Linked DNA regions of Homo sapiens: regions 1, 3, 4, 5, 6 and 7 are each linked to region 2. The links are contacts of gene promoters, found by promoter capture Hi-C in blood cells and fetal thymus (Javierre and others, 2016). All regions are on one chromosome and are shown on one strand. The core of a region is centred on a gene start or on the middle of the fragment in contact, and the rest is flanking DNA. Distances in the headings are between cores, read along the strand shown. Region 1 overlaps SMCHD1 (structural maintenance of chromosomes flexible hinge domain containing 1). Region 2 holds the start of MYOM1 (myomesin 1). Region 3 overlaps DLGAP1 (DLG associated protein 1). Region 4 overlaps SMCHD1 (structural maintenance of chromosomes flexible hinge domain containing 1). Region 5 overlaps SMCHD1 (structural maintenance of chromosomes flexible hinge domain containing 1). Region 6 overlaps SMCHD1 (structural maintenance of chromosomes flexible hinge domain containing 1). Region 7 overlaps DLGAP1 (DLG associated protein 1).

The links. The method cuts DNA at HindIII sites, captures the fragments that hold promoters and counts their contacts. A CHiCAGO score of 5 or more calls a contact.
Region 1: a fragment that was not itself captured here is called in contact with the fragment with the promoter of MYOM1 in region 2 in 1 of 17 cell types (megakaryocytes); the score reaches 5.4 in megakaryocytes.
Region 3: a fragment that was not itself captured here is called in contact with the fragment with the promoter of MYOM1 in region 2 in 4 of 17 cell types (naive CD4 T cells, non-activated CD4 T cells, total CD4 T cells and 1 more); the score reaches 6.3 in naive CD4 T cells.
Region 4: a fragment that was not itself captured here is called in contact with the fragment with the promoter of MYOM1 in region 2 in 3 of 17 cell types (megakaryocytes, activated CD4 T cells and M0 macrophages); the score reaches 7.4 in megakaryocytes.
Region 5: a fragment that was not itself captured here is called in contact with the fragment with the promoter of MYOM1 in region 2 in 1 of 17 cell types (megakaryocytes); the score reaches 7.7 in megakaryocytes.
Region 6: a fragment that was not itself captured here is called in contact with the fragment with the promoter of MYOM1 in region 2 in 2 of 17 cell types (activated CD4 T cells and naive CD4 T cells); the score reaches 6.1 in activated CD4 T cells.
Region 7: a contact is called between a fragment that was not itself captured here and the fragment with the promoter of MYOM1 in region 2, in 1 of 17 cell types (neutrophils). The highest score is 5.6, in neutrophils.

What each region holds. Positions count from the first base shown.
Region 1 is chr18:2,708,990-2,712,159 of GRCh38, forward strand. The region is part of intron 17 of SMCHD1 (structural maintenance of chromosomes flexible hinge domain containing 1); the gene reads left to right. Among named protein-coding and RNA genes, the nearest start is that of SMCHD1, 55 kb to the left of the region's middle. The HindIII fragment of the contact is 775 bases long and covers 998-1,772 here.
Region 2 is chr18:3,217,898-3,221,313 of GRCh38, forward strand. It overlaps MYOM1 (myomesin 1), which reads right to left and starts at 2,071. Exons shown (of 38, transcript NM_003803.4): 1 at 1,906-2,071. RefSeq lists a silencer at 74-368. The HindIII fragment of the contact is 10,525 bases long and covers 1-2,851 here.
Region 3 is chr18:3,662,980-3,666,569 of GRCh38, forward strand. The region is part of intron 7 of DLGAP1 (DLG associated protein 1); the gene reads right to left. Among named protein-coding and RNA genes, the nearest start is that of DLGAP1-AS6, 12 kb to the left of the region's middle. RefSeq lists a silencer at 2,790-3,084. The HindIII fragment of the contact is 2,180 bases long and covers 1,145-3,324 here.
Region 4 is chr18:2,730,393-2,734,010 of GRCh38, forward strand. It overlaps SMCHD1 (structural maintenance of chromosomes flexible hinge domain containing 1), which reads left to right. Exons shown (of 48, transcript NM_015295.3): 25 at 1,873-2,100. Among named protein-coding and RNA genes, the nearest start is that of SMCHD1, 76 kb to the left of the region's middle. The HindIII fragment of the contact is 1,741 bases long and covers 457-2,197 here.
Region 5 is chr18:2,749,169-2,752,542 of GRCh38, forward strand. SMCHD1 (structural maintenance of chromosomes flexible hinge domain containing 1) reads left to right here. Exons shown (of 48, transcript NM_015295.3): 31 at 875-954; 32 at 1,182-1,339; 33 at 2,110-2,225; 34 at 3,320-3,374. Among named protein-coding and RNA genes, the nearest start is that of SMCHD1, 95 kb to the left of the region's middle. The HindIII fragment of the contact is 2,871 bases long and covers 374-3,244 here.
Region 6 is chr18:2,797,842-2,801,409 of GRCh38, forward strand. The region is part of intron 47 of SMCHD1 (structural maintenance of chromosomes flexible hinge domain containing 1); the gene reads left to right. Among named protein-coding and RNA genes, the nearest start is that of EMILIN2, 47 kb to the right of the region's middle. The HindIII fragment of the contact is 1,587 bases long and covers 876-2,462 here.
Region 7 is chr18:3,702,025-3,705,309 of GRCh38, forward strand. The region is part of intron 7 of DLGAP1 (DLG associated protein 1); the gene reads right to left. Among named protein-coding and RNA genes, the nearest start is that of DLGAP1-AS6, 51 kb to the left of the region's middle. The HindIII fragment of the contact is 2,126 bases long and covers 939-3,064 here.

The DNA of each region.
Region 1 (3,170 bases), core at 135-2,634, 510 kb before region 2:
TTTTTTCATCATTTCAAACTGAAACTCTATAGTAATAACTCTTCATCACTCCTTTCTCCCTGCCCTGGTAACTACTTTTTAACTTTCTGTCTCTGAATTTGACTATTTTAGGTACCTCATAAAAATGGAATTATATTTGTCCTTTGTGTCTGGCCTGTTTCGCTTAGCATAGTGTGTCAGAATTCCCATTCCTTCTTAAGGTTGAATAATATTCCCTTGTGTGTGTATATATGTGTATATGTGTATATATATATATATATACACACACACATGTATACACATACACCATATTTTGTTTATCCATTTGTTTGATGGATACTCAGGTTACTTTCACCTGTTGTCTATCGTGAAGAATGCTCCTGTGAACATCAGTGTACAAATAGTTCTTTGAGTCTCCGCTTTGGTTCCTTTTAGATACATTCCCAAAAGTGGACTTGCTGGGTCATATTATTATTTAATTTATTGAGAAACTGCCGTACTGTTTTCCACAGTGGTTGCCTCATTGTACATTCCAGTTTCTCCATGTCACCCCCACTTGTTATTTCCTGTGGGTTTTTTTGTGGGGGACGGATAATAGCCATCCTAACAGATATGAAGTGGTATCTTACTGTGGTTTTTTCCCCCCTTTTTCCTACTAAAGATAATTGTGGTTTTGATTTGCATTTCCCCAATATTCAGTGATTTTGGCCATCTTTTTATGGGCTAATTGCCATCTGTATATCTTCTTTGGACAAAGGTCTATTCAGGTCCTTTGGCCATTTTTAAATTTTGTTGTTGAGTTGTAAGAGTTCTTTATAATCCTGGATATTAATCCCTTATCAGATAAATGATTTACAGATATTTTCTTCCACTCTGTGGGTTGCTTTTTCACTTTGTCAATGGTGACTGTGATGCACAAAACTTTTTAATTTTGACAAACAATTAGTTTCTTTTTTCTTTTGTTGGCTGTGCTTTTGGTGTCTTATCCAAGAGATTGTTACTAAATTCAGTGTTACGAAGCTTTTCCTGAATGTTTTTTCCTTACAAATTTTATAGCTTTAGCTCTGTTGTTATTACTTTGATCCATCTGACCTTGACTTTTGCATATGGTTAACTTCTTTTTATATGGAAAACTTCTTTTGCCTGTAGATATCCAGTTTTTCCAGCACCATTTGTCAAAGACTATACTTTCTCTATTGAATTGTTTTGGCCCACTTGTTGAAAGTCAGTTGACCACATATGTGAGAATTTATTTCTGGGCTCCCTGTTCCCTAGGTCTATATGTCTGTTCATATGCCCATGCTGCACTGTTTTTGTTTACTGTAGCTTTGTAAGTTTTAAAATGAGGAGGTGTGAGTCCTCCAACTTTATTCTTGTTTTTTAAGATTGTTTTGGCTATTTGGGTCCATGGAGATTCCCTATGAATGTAGGATGCGTTTTTCTATTTCTGCAGAAAACACCATTGCGATCCTGGTAGGGATTACACTGAATATGCAGATCACTTTGAGTATTATTTTTACCTTAGCAATTGTAAGTCATTCAATCCGTGAACATGATTTTGTATCTGCAACTTTGCTGAGTTTATTAGCTATACCAGGGTTTTTTTTATGGATTATTTAGGTTTTTTCATATATGAACATGTCATTTATGAACGGAAATAACTTATTCTTTTCCAAAGTGGATGCCTTTTATTTCTTTTTCTTACCTAATTGGTCTGGCTAGGACTTAAAATACTATGTTGAATAGAAGTAACCAAAATGAGAATCTTGTCCTGTTCCTGATGTTAGAGGAAAAGCTTTTAAGTCTTTAACAGTTGAGTACATGCGATGTTAACTGCGGGTCTTATATAAGGCCTTTATCATGTTGAAGAAGTTTCTTTCTATTCCTTGTGTAGTGTTTTTATCATGAAAGAGTATTGTTTTCCCAAATGTTTTCTCTGCATCAGTCCAGATAATTATGTAGGTTTATTCTCTCAAAGTGATGTATTGCGTTGATTGGTTGTTTTTTGTTTTTTGGGGTTTTTTTTGAGACGGGTTCTCACTCTGTCACCCAGGCTGGAATGATGCGGCACAGTCGTGGCTTACTGCAGCCTCAAACTCCTGGGCTCAAGTGGTCCTCCCACGTCAGCCTCCTGAGTAGCTAGGACTACAGACATGCTCATTGCACCCAGCTAATTTTTTTTTTTCTTTTTATCAATGGATGAGAGTTTTTTAAAAATATTGACGAGGTTGGCCTCGAACGCGTAGCCTCACCTCCTTATGCACCAGGACAACTGCCCTGAGCCACCATGGCTCCCTTTTTTTTTTTTTGTGGTGGAGACAGGGTCTCCTATGCTGCCCAGGCTAGTCTCAAACTCATGGCCTCAAATGACCTCTTGCCTCAGTCTCCCAAAGTGTTAGGATTACAGGCATGAGCCACTGCACGTAGCCTTGTTTGTTTTTTATTTGTTGAGCCATGCTTGCATTCCAAGAGTAAATCTCACTTGGTTGTTATGTATAGTTTGGATGTTTGTCTTTTTTTTTTTTTTTTTTTGAGACGGAGTCTCGCTCTGTCGCCCAGGCTGGAGTGCAGTGGCGGGATCTCGGCTCACTGCAAGCTCCGCCTCCCGGGTTCACGCCATTCTCCTGCCTCAGCCTCCCAAGTAGCTGGGACTACAGGCGCCCGCCACTACGCCCGGCTAATTTTTTGTATTTTTAGTAGAGACGGGGTTTCACCGTTTTAGCCGGGATGGTCTCGATCTCCTGACCTCGTGATCCGCCCGCCTCGGCCTCCCAAAGTGCTGGGATTACAGGCGTGAGCCACCGCGCCCGGCCTGGATGTTTGTCTTGATCCCCGGTGTTGGAGGTGGGACCTAATGGGAGGTTTTGGAGTCATAGGTGCACATCTCTCATGAAGGGCTTATTGTGTGAGTTCTTGCTCTATTATTTCCCATGAGAGCTGGTTGTTAAAAAGAACCTGGCACCTCCCTCACCCCTCTTTTGCCATATGATCTCTGCATACACTGGCTCCCCTTCACCTTCCACCATGAGTGGAAGCAGCCTGAGGCTTTCACCAGATGCCCAGTCTTCCAGCCAGCAGAACTGTGAACCAAATAAACATCCTTTTCTTATAAATTATTCAGCCTCAGGTATTCCTTTACAACAACACTATATAGACTAAGGTGAGTTCTTTTAAAATTGTGCTGAATTTGG
Region 2 (3,416 bases), core at 821-3,320:
AAGCTCTCTCAAATCTCACAAACATTTCAAGCAAAGGTATAGTCTCAAACCAGAAAACAAAACAAAACAAACAAAAAAACCTGTTTGCTCTATAAGGAACATGCAGGCTTCTAGTCTCCCTACTTAAAGAGGTAAGAGAGTCGATTCCCAGGGTGACAGCTGGCATTGTGAACTTGAGCTAGCAGTTCTACTAAAAGTCAAAGGTATGTTTGTTTAGCATAGGGTGGGGAGATGTCACATGGCCTTAGCATTCTTGAATAGTTTATCCACTGAAGCAGGCCTATCAGCCACGTTGACAACCCTGGATGAAGTAATAGTTTTATAAAAGCTCCACCCCCAAGTGTTTTAATGCTGTAGAATTAGTTTTAAAGTGATCTGTTTTCTCCAAATGTCATTTTTAAAAAAATTCAAAATGAAGAATGAATCCTTCTAAACTCAGCATATTCTTTGTCAAGTTTAAAACTACTTTTTATTTAAACTATTTTAAAAGTCAGCATGTATTCCCCAGAGAAGAAAACTGAGCAAACTTCACTCCAGAAATATTTATCTTAGGGTTCATGGAAGATATCAGTCTACAGGGCATTTCCTAAGGGAAAAAAATAGCTACTAGCAAGCAACTTTGCTTCAACCCTTAAATAGATGGCTATTTTCTGTTACAAAATATGGAGGATAATTACCATGTATAATTAATAACTACTAGATGAATTTTGATAAAACAAAGGGGTTAGAAAATGTTAATACAGAATTACGTTAGGCAGTTATAAAGATATTAGAGAAGTTTCTGTTATGATACTACATTGTAACATGGCACATGTTATTTGAATGATTTTTCAAATAAATAATAAAGAAACTTGTTATGTTATAAACTAAATTCATTCCCCAGATGACTTGAAATGCTGTTATTTTCACAAAATAAAATCTTTAAATATCTTGCCCCAATACTATTTTTTACTCTCTTTATTTCTATTTCTCCCAAATACATTTATTTTTAATAATACTTACTATTCCTCTCACATAGATAGTAAGTTACAAGTAAACAGGGTTTGACTTGAAGCCCACATTGCTGATTGTCACAGCCCTGACCTCTGGAACAAAGGTACAACCACCTCCTCTTCATCAAGTAAGCCCTTGAAGTTAACTAAAGCCAGGATTAGCTCCAACACATGACGGCTGGAGTACGTTGGGAGGAAAGATGGTTTTAGTGTCTTTTGTTTCTTTAAGACCTAAATTTTCTTTCTGAAAATAATTTGAGAATTTAGGAAGAAATACAAATTCCATAGCTGTAATTTATGATACTTTTGTGCAGGCATTAGAGGGCAGAAGCTGATGAAAACGATTCCCAGAAAAATCACTATGTGGGGCTCTATGTTGCCTCTGAAATATTACTTAACCATTTGAGGCCATATCATTGTGCGCGCTCACATTTATCCACATTGCATCGTCACAGCAAGATCCCTGAATTATAAACTAGTGACTTCAGAGTTAATTTTCCTTCTTTCGGTCTAATTTGTAACCAGGGAGCATTGTATGGCACATGCAGGATTGAAAATGCAGGGCCTCCTGTCTCTCATCCATTTCAGATTTCAACCAAACCGTACTTGGAAATAGCATTAAACACACGCTTACAGTTCAATCCGAGGCAGATATGACCTCCTTACAGTTCCAGGAACAGCAGCTTAATTTCAGAAGAATACAGTGATGTGAGAGAAGAGCTGTGCCAGCCCGACTGGCACCCGGCTGTTCTGGTTTCCCTCCCTGGAGCTTCACTTTCCTATTTCTCTGTTATTCTGACATCTCTTTGAGAAAACTGCTGAGTTCAGAAGACAGAAAGAAAGCACTTACACTGCACTGCTGCTAAGCTCATAAGCTATCAAGTGCATTCTTCTGCCTCAGTGTCACACTTACCAGTTTCCAAAGGAGTAATGGTGGTGGAAATGTTCCGATGAGGCCGAGGAGCTGGATGAGAGAATGAAGACTCCACCTAGGTTGAATCCAAGACAATGTTAAGAGGCAGGGCTAAAGACAGGACCCTGGGGGCCAGTTCAAAAATAATGCATGTGGTCAGGCAGTCGAATGTCAGGCCACACAACCAGCCTTTTATGGCCAAGAAGGCAGATAAATATAGCAGCAGATGGGGAGGGTAGTTCCAAACCAGGAGGAGGAGAGGGGCATGGGCAGGTAGCAGCCTTAGTAATATAATTGCATAATGCCGGTCAATGGGTCTGGCCCGATTAAACCAAATATAGGGTTTTTATTTGGCAACAAGAGTTATTTTCAATGTCACTTTATCAGTAGATAATTTAAAAGTGTAATGGAAAGAGTGGTTTGTGTTAACAGCTAAAAATAGGTGTAGTAATATGATTCTCAAAATGGACTTCGTGGAATTTTAATGCCAAGATATGATTCTGAGTGTGCTGTTAACAACACACGTACGGTACATTTAAAAGATACAATGTGAAAAAAGAACTTGAAGCTAACTAAAGGCAAAACAAGGAAGAAATGGGTTACACGTGGTGGCGATTTTTGCCTGACATCACGGTCACTATTTCTCTCACTTCAGGAAAATTTACAAGGTTAAGTCTTAGCTTCAAGCCTGAATATGTGATTTCCTGTTCATTAACTAAAGCCTTTTGAGACGCAACTCAGTGTTTTATCTTTCCTAACTCAGAGTAGGGTCAGTCCATCTAATAAGAGATTCTCTTTCTTTGTTCTTTAAATGGTGTGACCAATTAAGAGGAGGTGTAACCCGGTTGTGAGAGCCTGTGTTGTGGATTCAGACCAGATCTAGATCCCACTATATTGATAGCACTTAGTAGCCATGTAATCTCCAGCAATTTATTTCTCCTTCCTAAGCTTCAGGTTTTTTGTCTATAAAATGGGGATAATCATATCCAAATTATAGGATTGCTGTGGTGATTAAATGTGATACTGCAGACAGAGCACTTGACCTAGTGACAGTCACATAATATAGACTCAGTAAATATCAGCTGTTATTACTGATACCAATAATATAAAAGCTCATTGTTAGATTACATGTATGCAGCAGGTTGGTATTTTGATCTACTGGCCTTATGTTCTGACAGTGATATTACATCAACTGAATAAAGGTCACCTGTGTCTATCAAAATTGTTTTTCTTTCTGAGACAGGGTCTCACTCTGTTGCCCAGGCTGGAGTGCAGTGGTGCAGTCTTGGCTCACTGCAACCTCTGCCTCCCAGGCTCAAGCAATCCTCCCACCTCAGCCTCCCGAGTAGCTACAGGCGCATGCCATCACACTCGGCTAATTTTTTTTTTTAACTCTTGGTAGAAATGGAGTTTCACCATGTTGCCCAGGCTGGTCTCAAACTCCTGGACTCGAGTAATCCACCTGCCTCAGTCTCACAAAGTGCTGGAATTACAGGCGTGAGCCACTGCAC
Region 3 (3,590 bases), core at 985-3,484, 450 kb after region 2:
CCTGAATCTCGGCTGGGTGCCGTGGCTCACGCCTGTAATCCCAGCACTTTGGGAGGCCAAGATGGGTGGATATTCTGAGGTCAGGAGTTCGAGATCAGCCTGACCAACATGGTGAAACCCCGTCTCTACTAAAAATACAAAATTAGCCGGGTGTGGTGGTGCATGCCTGTAATCCCAGCTACTTGGGAGGCTGAGGAAGGAGAAATGCTTGAATCTGGGAGGTGGAGGTTGTAGTGAGCCGAGATCATGCCATTGTACTTCAGCCTGGGCAAGGAGAGCAAGACTCCCCCTAAAAAAAAAAAGAACCTGAATCTCAAACTTGAGCTTGAGATAAGGTTTTTGAAGTCTTTAGAAGGGGTGAGTATATTTTGCCTTACAGAAGATGTGAATAATTTGTGTCCAGAGGCTGAAGCATGGATGACTAACGATGACCACAGATTATTTGAAACTCTTCCTATTGAGAAGTGGCATCTTCGTTATTCCCTTTGGTCTGAGTGGGCTTGTGGACTGCTTTGGCCGTCACCAAGAATATGAAGGAAAAGATGCTCTGCCAGTATCTGGGCTCAGACCTTAAGACCTTAAGATTTCCTATCTCTTGTATAGGAACTGTCTCTGGAAGCCCTGAACTGACATGTAAGGAGTCTTGAAGCCGCAAGGCTGGAGGTGCCAATTACAGGTGCTCTAGTCAACAGTTACCATATTGCTACTGATCAGGAGCCCACACTCCCAGCCATTGAAATGAAGGTGCCAGGCATGTGAATAATGCTGTCTTGGACTCTCAAGACCAGCCCAACTGTGATGGTTAGTTTGTGTGTCAACTTGACTGGGCCATGAGGTGCCCAGAGATTTGAACAAACATTATTTCGAGTGTGTGTGAAGGTGTTTCTGGATGAGATTAACATTTGGATCAGTTCATTGAGTACAGCAGACTTCCCTTCCTAAGGTGGGTGGGTCTTGTCCAATGAGTTGAAGTCCTGAATAGAACAAAAAGACAAAGTAAGAGAGAATTCTCTGTCTCTGCTGGGACATCAGTCTTCTCTTCCCTTTGGACTTCGACTTGAACTGGAACTTACACAATTGTTCTCCATGTTCTCAGGTCTTTGGACCCAGATTGGAACTATACCATTGGCTCTCCTGGGTTTCAAGCTTGCTTGCTGACTGCAGATCTTGGGACTTCTCAGCCTCCATAATTATGGGTCAGTATACACACACACACACACACACACACACACACACACCCACACACACACACACACACGGATATACTACTTCTCTGGAGAACTCTGACTAATACACCAACTTCTAGCTGAATGTGGAACAGAAGAATTGCCCAGCTGAACCCTGCCTAAATTCCTGATTCAAAATCATAAGGTATAATATAATGATTGTTTTTCAGCTGCTCCACATTGGGGTAATAAGGTATGTAGCAACAGATGACAGACATAGTCAGCTGTGCATACATTTTCTGACTACACATGTGCCCTGTCCCTTAGCTCTTGGTACTCCAGCCACATCACCCTTTCAGTTCTACTAATATTGAATGCAGAATTAGCACGTGCCATCCCTCACCCTTCTTGATCCTTTGACTCTTAGCTAATGAGGATTTTCTCAGGGAAGTTCTCCCTGAGCCTCTAGATTAGTCCCTTTGTTACAATAGATCCTCCCACAAGAACTGTCTCTTTCTTTCAGCGCAGTTATCTCTGTGATTATTTGATTGACGCTAGTCTCTACCCCTAGATGGTAAACTCCATGAGAACAAAGGGTAAGACTGCTTTTGATCACCAGTGAATTCCCCGAGTTCAGCACCATGTCTGGACATAGTAAGTGCAGAATAAATATTTGTTAAGAAGGTGAATGAAATATTTGAAGCAGCTGATAAAGACTCCCTTCTCACCATAGCTTTTAATAACCATGTCAATATTCTTTTCTTTGCACCTTGTGAAAATCTGGGTTCTCAGCCATTGTAACTGGGAAAGACTGTGACTTAATATGAGGCCACTGGTCCTACTATGCTATTGTCTGTGACGGCAGCTAAGCACAACTGAAGTTGCTGGAGTTCCTTTTTGTAACCGCTGGGGAAGAGGAAGCACAAGAGAGCCTCTGGGTGTGTGGGCGCAGGAATGCATAGAGAAAAAAGTAATTAGTGCCTGTTCACATTTATGTCTTTAGTTGGAAATTAGGGAGCTCTCCTAAAAGTCTAAAGAAAATCGTGGATGCTCAAACTGTTTAAAATGTTTCTAAATTTAAGTTTAGAAACAATTTGTTACTAGATCAGGAGCTCTTCCCCCTCCCCCCAACCCCTTCCTCTAAAAATGGAAGAAATAATTGCTGCTTCCTTAGTGCTGTTAGGAAAATTCTGTACCTTCCATAACCATTGCTCTCAGTATTATTTTCTTAATACCTAATCTGAATTCCTACTGTTTTAAAATGCATTCCCCTACTTAGCTCTACGGATATGGAAAATACATGCTCCGCTGGGAATAGTCTTTCTTAAAATATATCTGCTCTGCTTAAAGATTAGTTTATCATTTTTGCCACATATAAAATAAGCTCAGGTCTCTACAAGTGCCCTTGTAATTTCCATTTCATAAATTTAAAAAATATTTTGTTTTACCTCGTTATATTTCTAATAGTGACCTCCAAATGGGTCTGTGTACGATATTTCATTAAATGGGTTTAGTAGGCTTCCAAAGGGAGAAAAGAGGATTTCCATTTCTGCATAATATTCTTGCTCTTTTAAGAAGAAAACACCTCTACAGTGGCAGGGCTAATATGTCGACAGGCATATTCCGTATCATTTATGTAAGTTAACACATTCTGAGGCTCTGCCCATTTCCACTTCTCTGATTTGTCCTCCCTCCCTGAGTGCACAATACTGCATTTGTCCCTTTTGAACATGTAACAGATTAAAGAGCTGGGCAGGAGGCAGATGTAGGGGCACCTTTGATCTCTCATCCTTGGAGGTTAAGGGAGGGCAGACACCTGGCGGCTGCCGAGCTGGAAACAAAACACAGGCCCAGACTGGAATTACCTTAAAGGGAGCCCGGCTCCAACCGCAGAGGCAGCTGGAAGCGCTGAATGGGCACCGGGGGAAGAGAGCCCCGCGGTCAGGCAGAGGACGCAACAGAGTCCTAACAATGTGATCCAGGCTACCCGAGAGCTGGTTAGAATAATCCTTCCTACGCAGAAAGACCCAGGAAACCTTCCAGGAAAGACTAGGCAGCCGCATTGAGAAAAAACGAAAAGTAAATCTTTTGCAAATAATATCACAAAACTTCCAGCTGTGCACAAATACTGAAGGGCAATTTTGATGACAATGCAGGAAGCTTTCAAAGAAAGGATTTTTAAACATATTTTTTCCTTGGCGGAACTCTTTTTAGTAAGGATTTCCACCTTTGCCCCAGGATCCTGCCAATGTTCTTAGTCAAAGCCAGACCCGAGTTTCCTAGGATTCTTCGGTGAAACTGCATTGCCCCCTGGCGTTTGTGTGCTGTCATTACGCCGCACAGATAAAGCCCATGGAACACCTACCAATCCGAGGAAGGATGCAGCTCCTGGTTTCATCTACATGGAGAAACCTCTCTTAAAAC
Region 4 (3,618 bases), core at 77-2,576, 490 kb before region 2:
ACCTCCTGAGCTCGTGATCCACCCACCTCGGCCTCCCAAAGTGCTGGGATTACAGGCGTGAGCCACCGTGCCTGGCCCACAAAGGGATTTCTATATCATGTGCCAGTAGGATGCTTTTTATTGGTGATTCATCGTGGCTGATAGCAAAGCCAACATGGAGGCAAGAGCTGTAAACAATCTAAGGTTGTGGAGTGGGATAACAAATACTTAAGTAAAACTTCAAAGGTTGCTGAGTAGGGTAACAGATACTTAAGTAAAATACTTAAATGTGATTTCTTAGTAATTGATATGGTGATAGATAATCTAATTGGTTGATTAACTCATACTTTCCTACTAATTATACATCAGTTATTAACATAGCTTGAACCTCAAATGGATACAAGATGTCTTTTACTTTTTAAATTAGAATGAGATGACTCTTCATTCCAGTTCTTTTTAAGCTTGTTATATTTGATAAGCTTAAAGTATTTTTTATGCATTTTCTTTATGCAATAATATGGGCAACATACTTTTGAGCACACTTTCTTGCAAAAGATGACTATGAATTAGGGAGGAATCTGGACTTGGAGGCAAGAGCAGCAGGCATTAGGACTTTTGTAAATACTACAGACCACTCAGGAGAAGACCAAGAATTCAGGTCAGTTAAAACAAATGCCAACGTAAATCCTCTAATAGGCAGTTACAAAATGTTATCCAATGGCAATAACTGAGTTTAGGAGTAAGGCAAGTAAGATACAACAGAAGATGGTTATGTGCCTGACATTCCATGAGGTAGGAATTTTTAATATCACTCACGTGGATAGGCTTCCATAAGTTAAATGGCTGCAACTGGATGAGGAAGGAGACATGAGTTAAGTAAGATTATAAAGGTATTTTATGTTTAAACTTATTTTAAATTTAGTGTGTGCTGTTGAATGGACTATAACTAGATTATGAAATAATGTAATATTTTAATTTTGTGTGCCTAAAATCAATTTATATAGCATAATCTTGGTCTTTTCTTTGATCTGTAGAACACTGGTATGCCAATAATAAATTGTAAATATGCCAATATGTTGACCAGTTGTCTTCAGGGCATCTAGAGGCCTTCTCTGGCTATAAACAACCTTGATCACTTACCCCAATGTGTTATGAATTGAAAAAATACTGAAAGCCTTAATGTAATCTGTTACCATTAAATAATGTATTTTATGGTAGCTGTTTGTCTCTGATTTTATGGAAAGTTCTTAATTTCTTACATCTTTGTTCTTATTCATAAATACTAACAGAGTATGTAACATAATTAAAATTTCACAAGATGGCAATACTTTTAAAGAAACTTGGAAATAAGAGGAAGGGACCGGGCGCAGTGGCTGATGCCTGTAATCCCAGCACTTTGGAAGACCGAGGCCAGTGGATCACCTGAGGTCAGGAGTTTGAGACCAGCCTGGCCAACGTGGTGAAACCCATCTCTGCTGAAAATACAAAAATTATCCATGCATGGTGGTAGGCGCCTGTAATCCCAGCTACTCTGGAGGCTGAGGCAGGAGAGTAGTTTGAACCCAGAAGGCAGAGGTTGCAGTGAGCCAAGATCATGCCACTGCCCTCCAGCCTAGGAGGCAAAGTGAGACTCTGTCTCAAAAAAAATAAAAAGGAGGGGAATCCTTTTAGTCCACATACAATTGTTTTTATTTTAAGAATGTGGCCACTGCCATTTATAACCTGATGGTATAAAATACGGAATTATTAATAGTATAATGCCATCTTAATGACAAAACCTGTGAGTATAACAATGTATGAGATGGTCTTCCATAATATTGAAAGTAAATTCTTCAGGAGTGTAAAATTTCAGTACAGATATCACTCAGTGTTTGTGTTTTCTTCTCTTTCTAGAGTTGTAAAGATGTGGCACCTGTGGAGAAGACTATTAAGTTGCTTCCCAGTAGCCATGTTGCAAGACTACAAATATTCAGTGTAGAAGGACAAAAGGCAATTCAGATCAAACATCAGGATGAGGTTAATTGGATAGCGGGTGATATTATGCATAATCTTATTTTTCAAATGTATGATGAAGGAGAAAGAGAAATCAATATAACATCAGCTTTAGCAGAAAAAATTAAAGTAAGTATCTCTAACAGATTGGTTATTTGTAAGAACTTTTTAAATTTTATGTTTGTAAGACTGAACAAGCCGTTTTATGGGTAGCATCTAAAAAAGAAGCTTGTCACAGAAAAGTTATACTATCATTTCAAATTGTAAGCAGAATAAGCTTTTTTCATGGAATAGGTTGAAATGCAAATGATTCATATGTGACAAAATTATACTTAGAAAAATGATTTTGACACTTAAAAATCTAGGTTTTGGCATTTTGTTTAGTTGTGCTCTTCCTGACTAGCTGTTTTTCTGCAATCATAATCAACATCACCACCTTGATAAAGCTAGCAATAAATTGGTAGCAGTTCTGAAAGCACTAAACAAAAGATCTGTTAAAGGCAAGCAGTGAAACAGTGTTGTTAACTACAGAGCCTCTATTTGGCCATTGGAAATTATTGAAATTGGTATACCACTCTAAAAATATGATCCTTAGAAAAGAGTTTTGTTGGTCCTCATCAACCTGCTGTCATCTAAATATGACATTTGTACCTTGATAGGGTTGAGTCTGCATGTTGAAACTTAACACCTCACTGAACAGGGAGCCAAATCAAAATGTTAAGTCTTATTACATAAAGTAGACAGCTTTTTAGCATTCCTTTGATGGTTGACTGAAAGAATAGTGGACAGTCTATGCTTGCTTCTTTCAAAGTTCAGTTTGTTCTTCTATAATGAGACACATGCATTCTCCAGAATCACTCTGCTGTGCAAAATTGTACAATAAAAAATCACAGGGCTTATGAGGGAAAATGGAAACTAGAGGCACAATACTCAAACTTTCTCAGTAACCCGTTAAGAGAACCTAATAAAATAGTGGCAAAAACAATAATGATAATACATGTTAAATGTTAAGAAATACATAAATACTATAATAATATGGGAGGTTACCTAGCTTGATGAAGCAATGATTGCAGCTTTTGAGTTCCTGTGAAGTGGTGGAAGGAAGGTTATCTGAAAGTGAGGGGAAAGTTGTTTTAACAGTCTGTGGATGAGCGTGGCTCATTAACACATAGTCAACTGAGGTGACTGATAGGTGTTTGAGGTGCAACATTTGTTGTGTTCCCACTTGGTTCAGCTGGGTACAGTTTTCTATGTTGACCTAGTTTTTTCATAGATGAAATTGTACCTAAGCAAAAGTAAAATTTGCCTTATGCTTAAATTGTTTACTGATAGTTGTATTGGAACAAATTTGCATTTTCAAAGTAAACGTAATTGTACTGGAACAAATTTACATTTTCAAAGTAAGCATTGTAACAGAACTTACTGTACTTTTTTCCCTTGATGTCTATGGAGATAAAATTCCCAAGTGTGGAAAAATAATTTATCAAAATTCCAGGCTTTTGAGGTAGTTAGAAATAAGCATTCCTCCATGTCTGGAGAGCTGACATTCATAGACTCTTAGTACGGAGTCCCAATTAGCCAAATTTTTGGAGAGTTAACATGTTTGGCACTATGTAGGAGTTGCTCTTCCATACCGGTATACACCAT
Region 5 (3,374 bases), core at 559-3,058, 470 kb before region 2:
GACCAGAGGGTAATTGGGACAGGTATAAACATAGGATTTCATCCTATCATTTCAAGTACCCTTTCTCATTTTTTCCTGTTCAGCTATTGCTTTTCCTGTCTGCATGTACCATTATTACCTACTCTTTAGGTTCTATTAAGTTGAGATGGGTTTTAGGATTTGGGAGAAAGTCTGATTTTTCTTCTACTGTGGTCTACAAATTCACTGTTATTCTGAATGTTTGCTTCCAGTAGAGTTAGACAATGATTACTTTCAACCCCAGAATAAAGATATGATTCTAGTTTCTGGAGAACCATCTGTAAAAGGCTGAGAGACCCTTCTAGACCAGTTATTAGGAAATGTGGCCACTGATTCTTAATCTCTTGAAAGTGAAAGCTTGGTTATCACTGTGAATGTAGTATTGCAGCAAAAATTTGAGAAGTGTATCTGAGTAGACTTTCAAGAGAAAAATGAAGAATGAAGATAGTGCTATGATGCTTTGACTTGAGTATGTGTGTACAGTATATATTTCTCCAGTGCAGTCCCCTATACCTGCCCCAGCTTTAGAATATACCTTCTGTGTTTGTGTAAACAAACTTCATTTGATCTATCAGTGATATTGAAACAGTGAACTAGAAATCTGCAACTTAGTAACTGAAATACATTAAATTCTAGTGAAATTGATCAAGATGAGTGATTGTTATTCTACTTTGGATTATATCATTACATACTACATTATTCCAACTAGTTCAGATTTTTAAAATTTAGATTTTAGAAGTATGCAAATACTGCTTTTAAAATAGGAATAGAGGGAAAGAACATTGTAATGGAAGAAAAGAACTTGATTGATCTCTAGAATTTTCTAATTAACCATTTTGTTTTGTTTTGTTTTTAGCTCATGCCTTCAAACCAACAGCATAAAACAGATGAGAAAGGCAGGGCTAATTTGGGAGTATTCAGTGTTTTTGCCCCTAGGTAAGAACCAAAAGTTTGATAGTTGTTGGTGTTATAGAGATTCGTTTTTCTTACTGCTTGCCGAAGTTACAGCTAATGACTATCCTTCTGTTTAATGTTAGGCAAGAGTTGGGACTGAATAGAAGTTGAGAGGTTTTTCTAAGAGTTGAACTTTGCATAAATTGTCTCAGAATTTTTAGGTTATTAACTAATGTAATTTGAACCCCTCTCCTCTTTTGTTTTGTTAGGGGAGAGCATACTCTTCAGGTTAAAGCCATCTATAACAAAAGTATCATAGAAGGACCTATAATTAAGTTAATGATTCTTCCAGACCCAGAAAAACCCGTTCGTCTCAATGTTAAATATGACAAAGATGCATCCTTCTTAGCAGGGGGTCTTTTCACTGGTGAGTATTTCACATACATAAATAAATCTATAATGATAATTTGCTTTGTACATTAGTGGAATAAATTACTTATCCTAGGTTAAGTGTGCTCAGTCTAATGTAGGAGACAGGGAAGCAAATGATTTCAATATCATGTTGCAGATGTTAAGTCAATAGGAAATTAGTTTTTGTTTTACACAAATAATTTTCTGGAAGACTTCTGTTTTCTTAAAAGGATGAATCCCTATACATAGTTTTAAGTAGTGAATGAAGCACCTCAAAGTTTAGATTTAAAAATTGTTGACAATAATTTTTAATAATCAAGTTACATGTATACATAGCTTTTTTTACCCTATAAAGTAGACTATACCGTATATAAAGTTTTAAATCTATTTCAGGGAGATCTATTTCCTGTGATTAAAAAATTAGTAACAGGTGCCAAATGAATGTTACAGGTGGTAAATATAATGGGAATATTATATATATTGATCTTTTGGCTATTATATGCTATCGAAAATCATACAAGAAAGTAAATATTCTGTTCTTGGAATACATAAAGCATATGGTGCTATGACCAATTGGCCTAACTCTTAAGTTGCTGAGTATACATTCTAGTCTTTTTGGTCTTGTATGCTAGAATTTATACATTTCTTCATCAGAATTGTATTAACATTTAAATAACGTGTGCTTTAAACATTTAAATAAGATGTTTGCTTTAAGGCATACAATTATTTAACCATATCCATTAATTGAACTAGAAAGAGATAATTTTTTAACGTTTACCATGACAGATTTTATGATTAGTGTTATTTCTGAAGATGACAGTATCATTAAAAACATTAATCCAGCACGTATTTCCATGAAAATGTGGAAGCTGTCTACCAGTGGGAACCGACCCCCAGCAAATGTGAGTCATGGGAAGCATTTTTTGAAGTTAAAAATAGTTCTTACATTTAACTTAAAACTAAGTCTCCTTTAATGTAAATATATAATGTTATATAAATTTGAGAAATGGAAGTGAATTTACTTCATTCCTTTGGGGTTAAAGAAATTACATCAATGTATGTTTCAAAATTAAAGATTGATGCTATTGAAAAAGAGTAGTCTACATTGTGATGTTTCTTAACATTTTAAGATGCCTACACATTAAAATTATTTCATCTGAAGGACAGTAGCACAAGGCAGAAGCTATTAAATATGAGGGGATAATATAGAAAATGAGATAGTAAAGAGATAGGATTGATAGACTGCTTGAAAGAGAGTGGAGAGTTAGAGGGTCTAGAACAGTGCTGTCCAGTGGAAAGATCATACCTGGTGTTTCTGCTTTCTAGTAGCTACATTTAAAAGCTAAAAAGAAATAAGTAAAATTCTAATGTTTTTAACCTAATATATCAAAAGTTACCATTTCAACATATATTCAATAGTTTAAAAATTATTGCTAGGATTTTACGTTCTTTTATCTTACCAAGTCTATGAAATTTGGTGTTTATTTTACACTGTATATCAGTTCAGACCAGCCACATTTCAAGTGCCCAGTAGTCACACATAGCCATTGGCTACCATATTGGATAATGCAGATCTGAAATAAATCTAAAATTGGGAACTAAAGTTTATCAGTGTCCTGATATAATAATCTACTTCAACATTTATGGTTCATTTTAATCATTGGTTTTGGAAACTATCTTGCTTAATTAATCCTGAATCTTTGCTTGCTTAATTTAGACCATCAGTCCAATCAAGTTGGTATTATCTTTAAATAATATCACCATAAAGTTCTACTGTGTGTCTTTTAATAATGGGGTGTCTTTCCACTGTCACTAATCTCACATTGTACCTTACATGTATTATGAAGATATAAACGTGTGTATATATACCTGTATGTTTATAAATGGAATCCAGATACACATTCAGTTTAGGTATATAATAAGCTTTCCTCCTAAGTATACTATGTTAAATTTTGTCATTTTCCCCTCTCCCCTTCTCTCCTACTCCCCTTTCTAGGCAGAAACATTTAGTTGTAATAAAATAAAAGATAATGACAAAGAAGATGGCTGCT
Region 6 (3,568 bases), core at 419-2,918, 420 kb before region 2:
AAGAAGCGGAGGTTGCAGTGAGCTGAGATCGCACCATTGCACTCCAGTCCGGGCAACAAGAGCATAACTCCGTCTCAAAAAAAAAGAAAGAAAATAGGGAATGAAAAAATGATGAAGTAATAGAAAATAATAGGGAAACAATATCAGTTGTCTGGAGAGATGCATTGAAACAGAGAACTGAAGGATGGGAAGGAACCAGCCATATAGGGATTGGTTTCAGTCAGAGGTTGGGAAGGAGGCATGATGCTCTAAGAAAATAACAGGTGTGGCATGTTTGAGGAACTGAAAAGATGTTAGTGTCTAAGGCATGGTATGGTATGCAAGAGGGAGAGGACCAAACTATTGTCGGACATAGAGGCAGAGGCCAGATTATGAAACTCCTCCCTCATCATGTTGCAAAAAAAATCTATTTTAAGTTCATTGATATCTCTTGAGTATCACACATGTAGGCATGTGAATGATGTGTTCATGGGCATGAGGTGTATACAGACTATTAAGCTGATCATTCAAAGTGTGTTGGGGCAGTTTAGCATCAGAAAGAAAGACTCTTTGCAGTGGATTTAGACATGTAACTTTTAGAAATTATGAGTTCAAAATGACGCAAAAATCCCTTATTGGTCATCATTGCTGGTTGGTAGGGCACCTGCTTGTGACTGTGAAAATTTATGTATTTATATAGAAAAGACATGTGTATGAACTATCTTCCAGGTTTCCAAATAGTTACAGAAAGTTCTTCTTTGTAAAAGTTATTCTTTGTAGAAAGTTCTTATATTGGTTAAATAATATGGTGTCTGGGATATACTCTAAAATACTCCAGGAAAATAAAGTGGCAGAGGATATCAAAATAAGACTTGGCAAAATGTTTTCATTACTAAAGCTTGAAATAGGAAATTCACTGTATTATTCCCTCTGCTTTTATATAGGTTTGCCATAATTTTTTAAAGAAGTATTTTATGAACAGTGGGATTATTTTTTAGAGAGACCAGAACCCACTTCCCACTAAGGAAATTCCTCAAGGTGCAGTTCTAGGCTAAGATGTAAGGTACATGTTTTTGTGCCACAGTCTCAGCACTAAATTTGCCCTAGACCTTCCAGTTACTACAGCGCTACTGTGGACATTGATTTGGAACTTGTTAATTAAGATTTTGTAGCAATTCAGAGGGAGTTTATGTTTTAGTTTATAATATTGTTAGTAGTATAATGATCATCGGTCATATGTGTATATATCAAATGGTATAGATTTACAGTGTTGTACTATACGTGAGTCACATATATAATTTTAAATTCTCTAGAAGCCATATTAAAAAGGAAAAAAGGAACAGTGAGATTAATTTTAATAATAGATATTATTGAACCCAATATCCAAAATATTTCTACATGTAAACAACGTTAAAAATGATTAATGAGCTATTTTACATTCTTTTTTTTTAAATACAAAGTCTTCACAATTCAGAAGACAGCAAATCTCAATTAGGACTAGCTACGTTGCAAGTACTCTGGAGCCACACACATGGCTGGTGGCTACCGTTTTGGACTGCACAGGTATAGAAAGAGCTGATGATCGTAAAATCTTGTATCCTATGCATCCTTACCCCTATTCCATCCTTCAGAGGCAACCTTTGTTTTAACTGTTAATTTTTAGTTACTCTATTGTTGCCTCCACTTTTAAAAGTTACATTATTATGACTATGTAAATATTGTTCAGGCAAATATTGTACTAAGCAAACTTGTGTGCTAGAATTACACTTCCTTCTCTATATGGGTCTAATGTCATGACTCTTACTTAGGCCACCAGTTAGTGCTCCAAACATCAGGCTCAAATAAATCTTCCTTACTCTGTTATTCTTAAAATCACGTGAAGTGTTATTCCAATTGTTACTAAGACTCTTTCTTGTTAATTTTTCTGGAGTTTTTAATTGCCACCTTTTTTTTTCTTTCCCTATGTATCTTAATCACATCTTCTTCCTCCTGTACCAGTGACTAGTAACTGTGCAGGCCTCCTGTAAATCTGCCATCCTGGGTCTTCCTTAGTTACTCTCTTGGATTATATCCATTATTTATTGGATTCCATGTCTTTCTCTCTCTTATAAATTCCTTAGAAAAAATGTGTAGAAAGATAACTTGGAGCCCTTCTATGTCCGAAAAATGTCTTCATTTTGCGTTCACGTTTGATTGAGGTTTTCTGGAGATAACAGGATAGAAACAAGGCTAGAATATACTAGAGGTGAAGGGATTGGGAAATAGTCTAGAAATAATAGGAGACAGTCTGCCTGATTTAGCCCCAGAAACACTTTGGATTCAGAGTCAGTTAGAACAAAAGAGTGAGAAGTCCAGCAACTCTCCCTGTTTGGGAGTCCTGTCTCCCAAACAGGGAGAGTGGCAAATAAAAAGGACGGAACAGAATGGAAAAGGAAAGGAAGCCACAGCCTAGAATGTACCAGATTTTCAACCCAAACTTTGAAAGCTTTGTTTCCTTGTCAACAGGCATGAAAAGATGCCACTACAAAGTTAGATAACAATGGAAATGAATTAAATGTTGGTATATTGGCTTTTGGTAGTTGCTGGCACACTAGGACCTAATGCTGGCCTCTGGGAACTAAAAGGCTGATAACTGGCTCTGCACCTGCACATTTATCTATTTTGATTTTAATTCAACAATTTTTACTTTATTTATTTTGTAGAGATGGGGTCTTGCTGTGTTGACCAGGCTGGTCTCAAGCTCCTGGGCTTAAGCTACTCTCCTGCCGCGGCCTCCCAAAGTACTGAGATTACAGGCCTGAGTCACCATGCTCGGCCCAACATCCACATGTTTAAAGCAAAACCTGTGGACCCATGACGTTGATTTGCCCTATCCCAGTTATAGTTACCATCAAGTCCCACTCGGAGAAGAGACTTGTTGGTAAAACAGTTCTATTTTTATAATAGTAGAAGAAATTCCAGCTAGCAATGTAATCCTCTTTCTTAAATGTAATTGTACAACTAACAGTCATCACACATATGAGGGTAGCCAGCAACGTGAGAGACAAAATTCAAGATTAAGTTCCAAAATCAACATGGAGGACAATTTAGTAAAGAGACTAGACCTCTTTTATAAAATTATAATTACTATGTAGCAGAAAGGAGCCAGGACAAGAATGAATAAACAGATTACAAATATTGTTGCTGAAATAAAAATGTTCAATAGGAGGATTAAAGTCCAAAAAGAAAACTTCCCCAATACAAAAAGAGATAGAAGACATAGAGAACCAATTCAGACTATTAGGAATCTAGAAAGAAGAAAATGGAGAAGGAAATGCTATCATGTGGAAGAGGATTTCCTAGGGATGAATAAAATTCATTGAATGCCCAGCAACAGTGACTGACAAAATACTCACTAAGATACTTCATAGTAATACTGTATCATATCAAGGAGAGGGAGAAAGAGTGTCAGTGATTTTAGAGAAGCCAAAGAACCATATTTTCAGTGCAGCCTTTAGTACATGGGGAGACACACACACAAAGCTATCATTTGTTTAGCTTTGTGATGGCGGTATTAGAAGTTTAGGTGGAAAATTTGGTGTATTCTGGA
Region 7 (3,285 bases), core at 752-3,251, 480 kb after region 2:
CTACCTTTATTTTAATTAATTAAATTAATTATTTATTTACTTTTGAGACAGAGTCTCATACTTGTCCCCCATGCTGGAGGGCAATGGCACAATCTCGGCTCAATGCAACCTTTGCCTCCCGGGTTCAAGCGATTCTCCTGCCTCAGCCTCCCAAGTAGCTGGGATTACAGGCGTCTGCCACCACGCCCGGCATGAAGTTTCACCATGTTGGCTAGGTTGGTCTCGAACTCCTGACCTCAGGTGATCCGCCCACCTCGGCTTCCCAAAGTGCTGGGATTACAGGCGTAAGCCGCTCCTGACGTCTACCTTGAATTTTAAAATAGCAGGTGTGCTTCATGGTGCTCAATTGGATATGCTTCACAGGAGTAAACATGTTTGGGAAATGTTATCAAAACCAGGAAGGCATAAATTGCTACCTTTCTATGGGATGGCAATAGACAAGTTCCCAAGAGAGGCAGCAACAGACCCCTAGGGGAGAGCCTGGCAGGGTTGTGGACTTCCTGCATGCAGGCGCCCTAGGATCCTGGGCTTCTTCCTAGACCCTTCCCTGGGTTTGAGAGACAGGGGAGCGAGGCAGGCTATGGGATCCTATATGTATCATCTTAGAAGTAATCAGATACAACAAGGTAGCTGGCATCTTAGCAAATCACACAGCTGGAAGACTTTAAGTAAATCTCTGTGGGGAGCCAGAGGGCTCAGATCTGGAAGGAGACAGCTGCTGGATGAGGAATAAGTAACAACTGAAAAGTCAGGGCAGCCCAGTGGCAGGCCCCTTACCAGTGGGGTTGAGGAGAATGACAGGCTCGCTCCTGCAGCCACTCAGGTACAGGCAGTTCATCCAGGAAGCAGTAAGGGACAGAGGGAGAAGAGAGAGGACAGGGATCCAAGTCCCAGAAAGGAGTATAAGATGGAGACTTTGTCTTAGAAATTGACATGAAAGCTTACTTGCTAGGACAAAGGCAAGCAAGGGTCTCTGGAGTGTTCTCAATTCTGTGAAGGCAGGATCAGCCCAGAGCTGGTTAAGATGTGGAGCCTGATGGTGCCAACAGGTCATGAGGCCATTCAGGGAAAACAAGGGTTAGGAAGGAGGATGGGGACCCAGGCACATGATGGCACTAGAGGTCCTGAATTCCAAATTCCAGAATCTTTGAAGTGGTGTCAAGATTGTGTCTCAGGATCACCGGATATAGCTGGTCCTTGGGATGGAATGTGGCGCTGTCCTGACAAAAGACCTGAACTTGCCAACTGAGAGCCTTTGATTCACGTGCTCTGAATTTTATTGCATTTACTCCAAATGCCACTGGGCAGTTGTCCATGCATAGGCTGGAGAAATTAATAGGAAGGGCAAGAAAACATGAGAAGTATCATAAAGAAATACTATAAAGGACAAATAAATGAGACTGGTAGTGAACTAGACAGACACAGAAAATAGAGGACAGAAATTCCCAGAACTGCTTCAAGCACGAAAGTGCAGTGGCCCTGATCTCTGTAGAAGGAGGAGTGTGAGGAGGATGTGTGTTCAGAGGAGAGCGAGTGGCTGTTGTCCACTTGTTTCTTTTTAGAAGACGGAGGGATATTTGAAAGTTCACTAGATATGGACACATTCTCTGCATTCTTCTTCTCTTTTCGTTCTTTTTTGTTTTTTGTTTTTGTTTTTTAATTCTAGAAAAGAATTGTTTCTTATTTTCCTCCCGAAGATGCAACCAAATGCCCTCTTTTCTGGAAACATTTTAGTTGCAGCTTCACAGACTCCATTTACGGTTGACATGCATTCTTTCCCCTATGAACACACCTCAGCAGCCGCCAGAGGGAGACTTTCCACACACGGTTTTTGCGAAGAGAATTTCCTTGGAGATTACTGCACCCTACATGATACAAATTCCTCCCCACGTTCCCCTTCACAGGCAGGGCTTCTAATCTTGACAGTTCCCAGAGCAGCAGTCATGGCTATATCAGGCAATTATACCATTGGGAACATTAGGGCTGCTTTGTAAAACCATAAGCACCCAAGAACAGATACTTTAAAAAATGTAAAAACAAGACAGCAGTGACAGCAGAAAGGACACAGCAGCTGAGTCACCTCACTGCATTTCTCCACATCCTAGCCCCTAGGAGGATGCTCTGCGGGGCCCACGGGAAGGGCTGAGTGCCACATGCCAGGGACCCCAGAGGTTGGCAAGAATGGCTTTGCCTAGAGACCATGCTTCCTTTCAGGTGTTGCAGGGAGAGGTGGCAATTCTGTTTCCCACATTAAAGAAAAAATTGACCGGGTGTGGTGGCTCATGCCTGTAATCCCAGCACTTTGGGAGGTCGAGGCAGGTGGATTACTTGAGGTCAGGAGTTCGAGACCAGCCTGGACAACATGGTGAAACCCTGTCTCTACTAAAAATACAAAAATTAGCTGGTGTGGTGGCAGGCGCCAGTAATCCCAGCTACTCGGGAGGCTGAGGCAGGAGAATCGCTTGAACCCGGGAGGCAGAGGTTGCAGTGAGCCGAGACTGCACCACTGCACTCCAGACTCCAGCCTGGGTGACACAGCGAGACTCCATCTAAAAAAAAAAGAAAAAGAAAAAATTAAATTTCATGACTTAGTGAGAAATGGTCATTTTGGGGGTCCATTGCTTGATTTTTTTTTTTAAATCTTCTTAAACAACTCTGAATTAAAATGTCTGAGAGAACACAGTGACTCATGCCTCTCCACTTCCCAGCTTTCCAACTGAGCAGCCCACTGGGTTGGAGGTATCTTGCCAAGAGGGAAGTATTTTTAATTTGGGCTTTATCTGTCACTCAGCTGTGGTCATAGAGACTGGCAGGAATGCATGCAATTAGAAGAAGAAAGAACACCTTTATGATTCCATAATATTAGTATTTAATGCCTTTTGGATGTTTTGGATAGCAGTCTTGTGTAAAGAGACAAGACATGAATACATGCAAAAGCAAATGAGAAAAGTCAGCATTTATAACACTATATTTGGGGATTCCAGAATTGGGTAATAGAGGACAAAAGTGTGCATCTCTAAGGAGTTATTTCTGTAGTTCAGTTCACAAACTGCAGAGTGGAATAAGCTTAGCAGATAGAAATAAGACATTCAGTTTTTTATTAGAAGAGAAACACACATAATTTGGTAGGGCTATTTAAATTTTTGAGTCAAACGAATTTTGTTGGCATGATGACTTCAGCGAACCATCTGCAAGGCTATCTGAAAGGACTCTAAAATAAATGAAGGGATTATTCCAGTTTATTTTGTGGAAAGAAACATTTTCAACTTTTCAGGCTACTTTTTT